2 separate regions of the Homo sapiens genome follow, and region 2 is linked to region 1. The links are contacts of gene promoters, found by promoter capture Hi-C in human tissues and cell types (Jung and others, 2019). All regions are on one chromosome and are shown on one strand. Each heading gives the region's core, a stretch centred on a gene start or on the middle of the fragment in contact. The rest is flanking DNA. Distances are from core to core; before and after follow the strand shown.

Region 1 (5,342 bases), core at 2,843-5,342:
ACCCAAGACAGCAGGACATGGGGGCACAGCCATCTCTGGGGGCCTCTCCTTCCCCCCGCTCTGGGTCCTCAGTCATCAGTGCAGACATGGAGGTGCAGGTGCACGCCGTACACCCTCACCTGGGGCCCCTGGCCCATGCCTCCCCACCCTCCCTACCCTGATCTCCCCCCACAACCCTACACCTCCCCGGACAACCCTGCACCTCCCCCAACAGCCACCCTGCACCTCCCCGCCACAACCCTGCACCTCCCCCAACAACCCTTCAACTCCCCTCTCACCTTGCACCTGCCCCTCACCCTGCACCTCCCCCCATCCTGTACCTCCCCCCTTCACCCTCCACCTACTCCCAACCCTGCATCTCCCCCCAACCCTGCACCTCCCCACATCCTTCACCTCCCTCCTCACCTGGCACCTCCCCCCATCCTTTCCCTCCCCCAATCCTTCACCTCCCCCCTCCCTTCATCTCCCCCCTCACCCTCCACCTCCCCCCCGCACCCTGCACCTCCCACCCTTACCCTGCACCTCTCCCCATCTTTTACCTCCCTCCCACCCTGCATCTCCCCCCAACCCTGCACCTCCCCCCATCCTTTATTTCCCCCCACCCTGCATCTCCCCCCAACCCTGCACCTCCCCCCATCCTTTACCTCCCCCCACCCTGCATCTCCCCCCAACCCTGCACCTCCCCCAATCCTTCACCTCCCCCCTCACCCTCCACCTCCCCCCCTCACCCTGCGGCAAGCAGAGAGCTGACTCCAGCACAGTGAACTTGGAATGATGGAATGCACCCTGGAAGCAGCTCTGACGGGCGCCACCGTGACTGTGCCCAGCAGGGAGCTCCCTTGTGGTTTTTAACAAAAGACAAAATTCCCCAGGTCCTTCTCTGTGCTACAGGAGAAACTGGTGTGGGAGAGGGAACCCAGGCGTGACCAGGGAGAAACTGGTGTGGGAGAGAGAGGGAACCCAGGCGTGACCAGGGCTGCCCAAGCGGCTCCCTGTGAGGCATCAACGCTGGAGACACAGCAGTCATGGGGAACCCGGGGAACCCGGGAAACCCAGCCGCCATCAGAGAGCCAGAGAGCCGCAGGCGCCTGTGCGGGGTCCTGGCCTGGCCCGAGGGGTCAGCACACCCCTGTCTGCCTCTGAGGTCAGGGCCCTGGGGGCTCCTGACCTGGCCTGCCTGTGGGAGGCAAAGGTGTGGCCAGGAGAGGACAGGAGGGGGCAGTCACAGTCACCACTCCTGGAGGCCCATGAAGAGCAGCTTTGCCCCCACACTTCTGTGAAGCCAACTTGGGCCTGTTTGGGAGGGGCCTGGCGCTGCAGCCGGCCGTGGGCACCTGCCATGTGGCGGTCCACTGGAGGCCAAGTCCAGCTCATATGGCTCTGGGGACCCACCGCACCAGACTCCAGTGTGGGGGTACCCGGAGCTGGGGGTGGGTCCTCGGAGGCTTCCAGTCCTGCCCCAGCTGCCATCCCTGCCAGGTGTTAGCGCCTCTGGTTCAGAGTCCCGAGAGGACCAGTGGCCCAGGAGAAAGGGGTGTGTCTCCAGCTGCTGGGAGTGTGGGTGGGAGCCAGAGGGTTCAATGACACTGGGGACAGCAAGTCCGGACTGGAGGGAGGAGACCTCCTGAACAGGGTCCCCAGCACAGAGGCAGAAAGGAGACTCTGTGACTGGGGGTGTCAGCTGCATCTGGACCTTCGTGGTGGGGAGGGAGGCACGCCCAATAGCCCGTCTGAACGGGAGGTGGCTCAGGGATCCCCCATTGTGCTGGTGGGGTGCCCAGAGACTCCAGGACTCCACGTGGGGCTCTGCCTGCTAAACCCTGAGACTTTAGGGGCAGTGGCTCCCACGGCAGGGTCATCCTTTTTCTGCACAGTCCCACTGGCTGCCCCAGGTCCTGCAGAGACCTGAGACTTTGGGGACAAGCACAGGGGACAGGTGGGCGTGGATGGCCTGTGCCGGTCAAGGGCAGTGGGAAGGAAGGAGGAGCAGTTTCCTTCTGTACCCAGGAAATAGAGTAACAAAGTGTCTCATTCCAGTTGGTTCTGGTGGGACAGGGTAGGTGGAAGGGAACCCGTGCTTGCCCTGAGACATGGGGGTGCTGTCTTCCCATGCAGGGGGACTGCGGCTCACCACCATCACATTCTACCCACAGGTTCTTATTTTAACAGATCACAAAGGTACTATGTGCTTCTTGCAAAAATTTACAGGAATTGTAGACTTTTCAAAAAGTAAAAAGAAATTAAAGTTCACCTGTTACCTCAGAGTTATCCAGCTACACATTTTCTGTGCATAATTCACTTTACAAAAATTGGATCAAGATAAAACTAATGATTTTTAAAAATACAGCAATATAGTTGCACATTGTTCCATATCAAAAAATAAATGTGTGCACCCAGGGCTCCTGGCTGTCTCAGTGGCATAGTGGCTCATGCCTGTAATCCCAACACTTTGGCAAGCCGAGGTGGGTGGATCACCTGAGGTCAGGAGTTCGAGACCAGCCTGGCCAAGATGGCAAAACCACTATCTACTTAAAAAAAAAAAAAAATTAGCCAGGTGTGGTGGCGCGCGACTGTAATCCCAGCTACTTGGGAGGCTGAGGCACGAGAATCGCTTGAGCCCTGGAGGCAGAGGCTGCAGTGAACTGAGATCGCACCACTGCTCTCAGGCCTGGGTGACAAAGCAAGACTCTGTCCCAAAAAAGCCCATTTACTCAGCTCACATTTTTGAGCCTCTGCTATTCGACAGGAACCAGAGGTGAGCAGAGCCGACTTGGTGACCCCTGGGGACAGAGCGGCAGAACTCAGCAATTCTGGGCTGCCCTGCAGGAGCTACACCCGGGGAGGGGCGGTGGCCACTTGGGGGCAGGGTGGGCTTCTCAGCTGCGCCCACCCCACCTTGGGAGCTGTGTCTGGAAAAGAGACTTTTCCTGAGCCGACAGCAGACAGCGAGTGCAAAGGCCCCAAGGCCCGCACGCCTTATTCAGAGAACAGCAGGAGGCGCGGGGCGGGTTGGGGGCGTCAGGGAGACGGGGTTTGACTGAGAACCTGGGGGCGCCAGTGACAGCCTCGGCCGCGTTGCTGAAAACCGACCTTGCGGGATGAAGAGGGCGCGGTTCCCCCGGCTGGGATGAGGACCGCGGATGCTGAGGAGCGGACTCCAGGGACCACCGACTCCATGGCCGGCCCCAGCGAGGGCGAGAACGGGTGGAAGCCGGCCAGGGTCTGTGGAGACGTCAGGGTGCGAGGCCAGGCTGAGGTGTCCCCAGGGATCCCCTGAGGGTACAGGGAATTCAGCCAGGGCCTGCGCGCCCGGACGGAGGACTAGAGGGGGCCAAGGACCACCGGGAGGGGGAAGGAGAAGGCGCAGCCCGAGGTCGGAGGGGCCGGCGGGCGCGCAGAGGGCGCGGGGTGAGCCCTAAGGACCTGCAGGCAGGACCCTGCTCTCGGCCGCGCGGTCCCGGGTGCCGACCGGCGGGGTGGGCGGGGCAGGGGCACCCAGGGCCGCACACCTGCCGCGTGGGACCCTGAAATGCCCAGGACGAAGAACGTCGCACGGACGACCCTGCCGTGCCTGGCGCGCGTCCGCTTCCTGGGAAGCTCAGGATCCAAAAGCATCTTAATATTCTCTATAATTCGCCAAAAACCATGACTCCTTTTACATTTTCGAAACGACCTCATGGGGCAGGCGAGGGGGCACACGCTCTCCTCACTTTACCTGTTCGGGTCTACACCGCCCGGCTCTAGGGCCGGCAGCTCAGCACAGCCGGCCGCGAGCGCTGGGGAGGGGACGGGGGCGCAGGGAGAACCGGGGGACCCTGGGCGCACACAGACCCCAGGGGGAACGCAGGGCCTGGAGGGGCTCAGCGCGCGACCCCCGCCTCGGGGCACGGAGACTCCGGGGGATCACTGGGACGCGAAGGGCGCAGGGCGGACCCCAGGGGAACCGGATGGCGTCTCCGGTTCGCCAGGGCAGCTGGGGCAGCCGGACCCGAGACAGCCGGACCCGCGGGCGCCCTCTGCCGCCTCCCGGCCCTGGATGCTGCGGGGCGGGGCGGGCGGCTCGCGTGCCGGGGTGGGGCAGTCCCTGGAGCCGCCGCGGGTTCCCGGGATGCGAGCGCCGGCACCCGCCGCCACAGCTCCTGGCCAGGGCGCGCTGCCCCGCGGGTGTGCCTGAGCCTCCGCGCCCCGCAGGCCCTGGGTAAGTGTCCTGGGCGCCCCCGCAGGCCCCCGCCGCGTGCCGCCCGCGGTGGAGACGGGATGCGCTCCCGGGTGTGGGGCTGAGGGACGGGCGCCGGCGTCGGGACCCTCCTCACGCCGCATCCTCGCGTCGCCAGGCCCGGCGGCCCCGGGACGGGGCGGACACTCTGGGGTGCGGCTGGCTGGTCTCACTTAAAACTCGGACCTCGGAGGGAAGCCGCGGCGCGTCCACGGTTCGTGGTCCTCAGCGTCCCCTCGAGAGTGTTCTGAGCCTTCACTCCCCGGGCGTTCCGTGCGGGCCGCGCTCCCTGGGGCTGGGCGGGTGCGGGCGGCGGAGCGGGGCCCCGCTGTCGGGCCGAGGGCGCCAGGTCCGGGGGGCCTCACCCCCGGGAAAGGCCCATGTTCAGGCTTGGTTTCAGTAGCACCCAGTAGCGCTGAAGTCTTATTTTGAGCGGCCAGAATTCCCAGACCGGATGCCCTGAGAGAGCGATGTGGCGCCTGGAGTCCACGCTGGGACCCCTTCTGGGGAGGGGTCGCCATGGGCGCGTGACAGGCAGGGGCCACCCTCTGACCTCTTCTGCGAGGCCGGAGGTCAGAGACCTTGTGCAGAAGCGTCCCACGGGCCTGTCCCACGGGCCTGTCCGGCTGTGGCCTCCGGGATGGCAAGGGCAGGCGGGGAGGGGCTTCCTCCCTGGGCCTCCTGTGCGCGCGCACAGGCTCTCGTCTGCGGGGTTCTTGCAGAAGGGTGGGCGTGTGCGCGCGTTCTCCAAACGCCACCCCCACGGGGCCTCACAGCCGCCCCGGCCTGGCAACCGTCACCCATTTTACGAACGAGGACATCAAGGTAGGTCGCTCATCCAGCCTCTCAGAGCAAGTGACTGGCGGCGTTTGGACTCGGGCCGAGTGTGCCATACCCATCCCGCACAAAGCCGGGGCTCGATGCGGCCCCAGAGTCGCTGAAAAGCCACGAGTAACAAGAACTGGAGAACGTAGGATGCTGACCCGGCGGACGCCGCCGCCTGGGGAGCCGCTTCGACGGGGGGGACGCCACCGCCTGGGGAACGGCTTTTATTTTCGTTTTCTTACTTATCTGTATTCTCTAAAATGAACAGACACGAGTTTTACCACGGGAGAAAGGTTCTTAG
Region 2 (5,343 bases), core at 1,160-3,659, 280 kb after region 1:
GCTCCCTGGGGCTCATGTCAGCCAAGGAGGGCAATTGATTTCCAACCACCTGTCAACATCTGCTTTACCCCCTGGGCTGAGAGCTGAGTTTCCCACAGTGACAAGTAGGTGATAAAAGACAGGTGTCCAAGTGTTTCCTGGAGAAAAAGCACTGGTTTAACTTATTTAATTAGTTCCAGAGAAGCAGTCAGACAGAAATGACACATCCCCTACAGGGCACAATAATCCCGGCTGCAGTTTCTCATCAGATGCTGTGCAGACCAGGATGTGGAAGAACATTGAAAACAAGAAACCAAAGGAAGCACCAAGCCAGAGTTGTGCATCTGTGAGAATTTCAGAAATGGAGGAAAAATCGATGCAAGAATACCCTTCAGAAATGAAAAAATCGACCGAAAATACCCTTCAGAAATGAATTAAAAATCAACACGAGAATACCCTTCAGAAATGAAGGAAAAATCAATGCGAGAACACCCTTTGGAAACGAAGGAAAAATCGATGCGAGAACACCCTTCAGAAATGAAAAATCAACGTGAGAACACCCTTCGGAAATGAAGGAAAAGTCGACGTGAGAACACCCTTCGGAAATGAAGGAAAAATCGACGCGAGAACACCCTTCAGAAATGAAGAAAAGTCGACGCGAGAACACCCTTCGGAAACGAAAGAAAAATCGATGCGAGAACACCCTTCGGAAACGAAGGAAAAATCGACGCGAGAACACCCTTCGGAAATGAAAGAAAAATTGATGATCTCCAGTGAGGACGCACTAAGAGAATTTGTTGCCGGCACACCTGCTTTAAAAGATGCCAAAGCAAGTTCTTCAGCTTGAGGGAAGATACAGAGGAAAACCCACAACCCCAAGAAGGAAGAAAGGGCAAGACAAGCAGTAAATGTCCAAGGAAACACAGCACACTATTGTTCTCCTCTTTACCCCAAGTGACTTTTCTTGCTCTGAATCTATTTTGTCTCACATGAATAGAGCTGTTTGAGGATTTTTGTGTAACTGATGTTGGCCTGATAGCTCTTTTCCCATCCTTTGACTGTGAAACAGTCTGTATCATTACATTGAAAATGAGTTTCTTGTAGACAGCATGTAGATGAGTCTTTAAAGTACATATGATGGTTGAAAGCAACAATTAACAACATTGCTTGGTTGAATTTTCAATATGTGCAGGTGCAATACGATGACTGTGACAAAGGGCACAGTGAAGGGGCCTTGGTGGGGACAAGGTCCCAGCATTCCAGCCAGAAGTGGTAAAATATTAATTCTGCATAGACTGGCAAGGTGAGGAGGAGTTAGAATGTATATTGCAATCCTTAGAATGACAATACACAGAGATAGAATTCAAGAAACCATTAGATAAATCAAAATGAAATACCACAAAATATCCCAATAATCCAAAAGAAGACATGCAAAGGGGAAAAGGAGAAAAAATCAGAGGTGCCAAATAGAGGACATGCAAGAAATGCTGGACCTAAATTCAGACACATCAGTAATGAATATAAATGTAGATGATCTAAACATACTGATTAAAGGCAGAAATTATCAGACTGGATAAAGGCAAGTCTTATCTACAGGCTGTCTATAAAAACCCTCTTTAAATACAAAATATAGGCAGATTAAACATAAAAGGATAGAAAAAGATATGCCAAGCAAACACCAATTAAAAAAACTGGAGTGACAAAGTAGATTTCAGAGCAAGGAAAATTCCTAAGAGTAAAGAGGGACGTTGCATAATGACAAAGGATCAACTCCCCAAGAAGACCTAGTAATCCTAAACACATATGCACCCAACGATAGGGCTTCCAAACACACAAGACAAAGACGATAGAGCTGCCTGAAAGGGAACAGGCAGCTCCATACTGGAATTGGTGACCCCAACATTCCCATCTCAGTTGGTTAGGGCTGCCATGTCAAAATACCACAGACTGGGGCCTTAAAGGGCAAAAATTTGTTTTCTCACCATTCTGGAAGCTGGAGGACCAAGATGAAGGCTGTTGGGGTTGACTTCTCAGTGTTCTCACATGGTATTTTTTTGTGCTGGTGTGGAGAGTGAATGATTCCTGGCTTCTTTCCATCTTCTTGTAAGGACATAAGTCCTATTGAATCGGACCCCCTCATATGACTTCTTGCAACCATAATCACCTCCTTACAGGCCCTGTCTCTAAATACAGTTACATTGGGGGTTAGGGCTTCAACATGTGAATTTTGTGGGACACAATTCAGTCCATAACAACTCCTCTCTCAGTAGCTGATAGAAAAGTGGACAGTAAATTAGCAGGATATGGAAGAACTGACCAGCTCCAGGAACCAACTGGACCTAACTAACATTTATAAAACGTTCTGCCAAACAACATCTACATACACTTTCTTTTTGGTCATAAAATGCATGTGAAAAAATTTAAAATACAAAAAACCTACAATGGTGTTAAACTAGAAATCAATAATATAAAAATGCCTAGAAAACCTCCAAATAGGTGGAAATTAAACAACACACTCCTTAGACAATGCAAATGTTGAGGAGAATGGCTCAGAAAAACTGGAAATCACTTGAACTGAATGAAAATGAAAAATATAGCAAAATGAAACAGTGCTTAGAGAGAAATTTATAGAACTAAATGCTTATAGCCCTACAAGCATTTAGTTAGAAAAGAAATGCTAATATTAAAAACAGAAGAAAATTATAAATCAACAATCTAAGCTTCCACCTTAAGAAATTACGAAAATAGGAGCAAATTAAACTGAAAGCAGGCAGAAGGAAGGAAAGAATAAAGATAAGAGAAACCAATGAAATAGAAAACAGAAAGACAACAAAGAAAAATCAATAAACTAGAGGCTGGTTCTTTGAAAAGATCAGTAAAATTGATAAAGCTTTAACCAGACTGATTAGCAAGGGAGAAAGAGAGATAAATTTCCAGTATCAATAATGAAAGAGGATATATCACTATTGACCCACAGACATTAAGAGGGCAATGCACGAACATTATGAGCTACTCCCTGCATATACATCTGACAACTTTGAAGGAATAAGCCAATTCTTTAAAAGCCACAAACTACCAAAACTCACTCAACAAGAAATAGATGGCCTGAACAACCCTTTTGTATTAAAGTAATTGAATTCATAGCAGAAAAACTTTCTGAAAATGAAAATTCCAGACACAGATGGTTTCATTAGCAGATTTTATGAACAGGTAATGAAGAAATATTACCAATTCTGCACAATCTCCTCCAGAAAATAGAAGAGAAATGCTTTCCTACTCATGTTATGAAAACAGCATTACTCCAGTGCCAATGCCAGATAAATGACAGTACAAGAAACAAAACTACGTACAAATATCTCCCATGAACATAGATGCAAATGTATAAATTGTGACAGTAGCATGCAAGGCTGGCTAAACATCTGAAATTCAATCAGCACTCTCCACTGTATTGACAGACCAAAGAAGAAAACACACACGATCATCTCAAATGACGCAAAAAACAATGTCAAAATTCAAGAATCATTCATGGAAAAAGTCTCAGCAAACTAGGAGCAGTGAGGAACTTCCTTAACCGGATGGAATGTATCCATTAAAAACCCACAGATGACGTCGCACATAGTGGTGAAAAACTGGATACTTCCTCCCTAAAATCTGGAATGAGGATAGGCGGTCCCCACTCCCATCCTTGCCAACATCATCCTGAAAGTCCCAGCTAGTGCAATAAAGCAAGAGAAGGAAATAAAAGGCATTCAGACAAGAAAGGGAGAAAGAAAACCATCTCTATTTACAGAGAGCATAATTGTTTATGTAGAACATTCCAAGGAATTTACCAAAAAAGACACAAAAACCTCACCTATAACTAGTCCATGAGTTCAGCAGTGTCACAGGATACAAGATTGGCACACACGTGTCAATGGCGTTTTTATCTAATAACAGTGAACACGTGGGAATTGAAGTTTAAGTCTCAGTCCCACTGACAGCCCTGCCAAGAGAATGAAACACAAACACACTTAACACAACACGAGTAGATGAATAATGGGCAAAAGAGGGAAGAACTCATTCACCAAGGACATTTGGATGGCAGATAAGAACACGAGATGCTCGACATCGTCAGCCACGAGGGAATAAAAATGTACACCACTGATGTGTGGAACCACCACACACCTGTGAGAACAGCGCGAGGAAAAAGGAAACGCGTGGTCACACCCAGCACTGGCGAGGACGCGGAGCCCCTGGCTCTCCTGTGCCACTGCTGGGGGTGTGACGTGCGGCAGCTGCTCCAGACGACAAGGTGGCAGTGTATTTTAATGTTACAACTATGCTTACCTTGGGATCCAGCAACCCCCTGCCTGGACATGCATGCTGGAGAAATGAAAGTTTATTTCACGGGAAAATCTACACACGACTGTTTGTAGCGGCTTCACTCCAGGGATTAGAAAATGAACCACTTACTTGAATCCAGTGAATATTCACCAAAAACAACCAACCAAATGTGTAAACAACATTGAGACCTACTAGAAACAACAAATACCTGCTTACATATGTTAATTGTTTGCCCATTTTGCCTCTGTGGACTTCCATTCCAATTCTTTATTCTTCCAATACCTATGACTGTTTCTATTTAAGGTGTTAAAGGAAACGTTTGACGGATCGAATAACTGATATGACATTTATCTTACTTTACTTTTAAAATCTCAACTTTTATTTTAGATTTAGGGGCACACGTGCAGATTTGTTACATGAGAATATTGTGTGATGCTGAGGTTTGGAGGACGGGTGCCATCACCCAGATGGCGAGCATCATACCTGAAGGAAGTTCTTTAATCCTCCATCCCCAACCCTCCAGGAGGCCCCAGTGACTTTTGTTCCCATCTTTTTGTCCACGTGTCCTCAATGTTTAGCTCCCACTTGTAAGTAAGAACATGCGGTATTTGGTTTTTTGCTCCTGCATTAATTTGCTTACGAGAATGGCCTCCAGCTGCATCCATGTTGCTGCAAAGGACACGATTCCATTCTTTTTATGGCTACGTAGTATTCCACAGTGTATATGTACCACGTTTTCTTTATGTAGTCCACCACTGATGGGCACCTAGGTTTGTTCCATGTCTTGCTATCGTGAATAACGCTGTGATGAACATATGTGTCCTTTTGGCAGAATCCTTTATTTTCTTTTGGGTATATACCCAGTAATGGGATTGCTAGGTTGAATGGTAGCTGTGTTTTAAGATCTTTGAGGAATCTCCAGACTGCTCTCCACGGGCCTGGGCTAATTTATGTTCCCACCAGCAGTGCGTGAGCATCACCTTTTTTCTTCAGCTTCACCAGCATCTGTTGTTTTTTTGACTTTGTAATAATCGCCATTCT

What was found. Contacts are between HindIII fragments. The study calls those that stand out against the background at their distance.
Region 2: a contact is called between a fragment that was not itself captured here and the fragment with the promoter of AHRR in region 1, in 1 of the 25 tissues and cell types used here (lymphoblastoid cells).

Annotation. Positions count from the first base shown.
Region 1 is chr5:317,622-322,963 of GRCh38, forward strand. AHRR (aryl hydrocarbon receptor repressor) reads left to right here and starts at 4,093. Exons shown (of 11, transcript NM_001377236.1): 1 at 4,093-4,198. All of the region lies in intron 3 of PDCD6-AHRR (PDCD6-AHRR readthrough (NMD candidate)), which reads left to right. RefSeq lists enhancers at 896-1,195, 4,329-4,896, 4,985-5,104 and silencers at 3,305-3,564, 3,715-4,204, 4,295-4,674, 4,685-4,744. The HindIII fragment of the contact is 29,634 bases long and covers 1-5,342 here.
Region 2 is chr5:594,528-599,870 of GRCh38, forward strand. No RefSeq gene overlaps it. Among named protein-coding and RNA genes, the nearest start is that of CEP72-DT, 15 kb to the right of the region's middle. The HindIII fragment of the contact is 4,530 bases long and covers 145-4,674 here.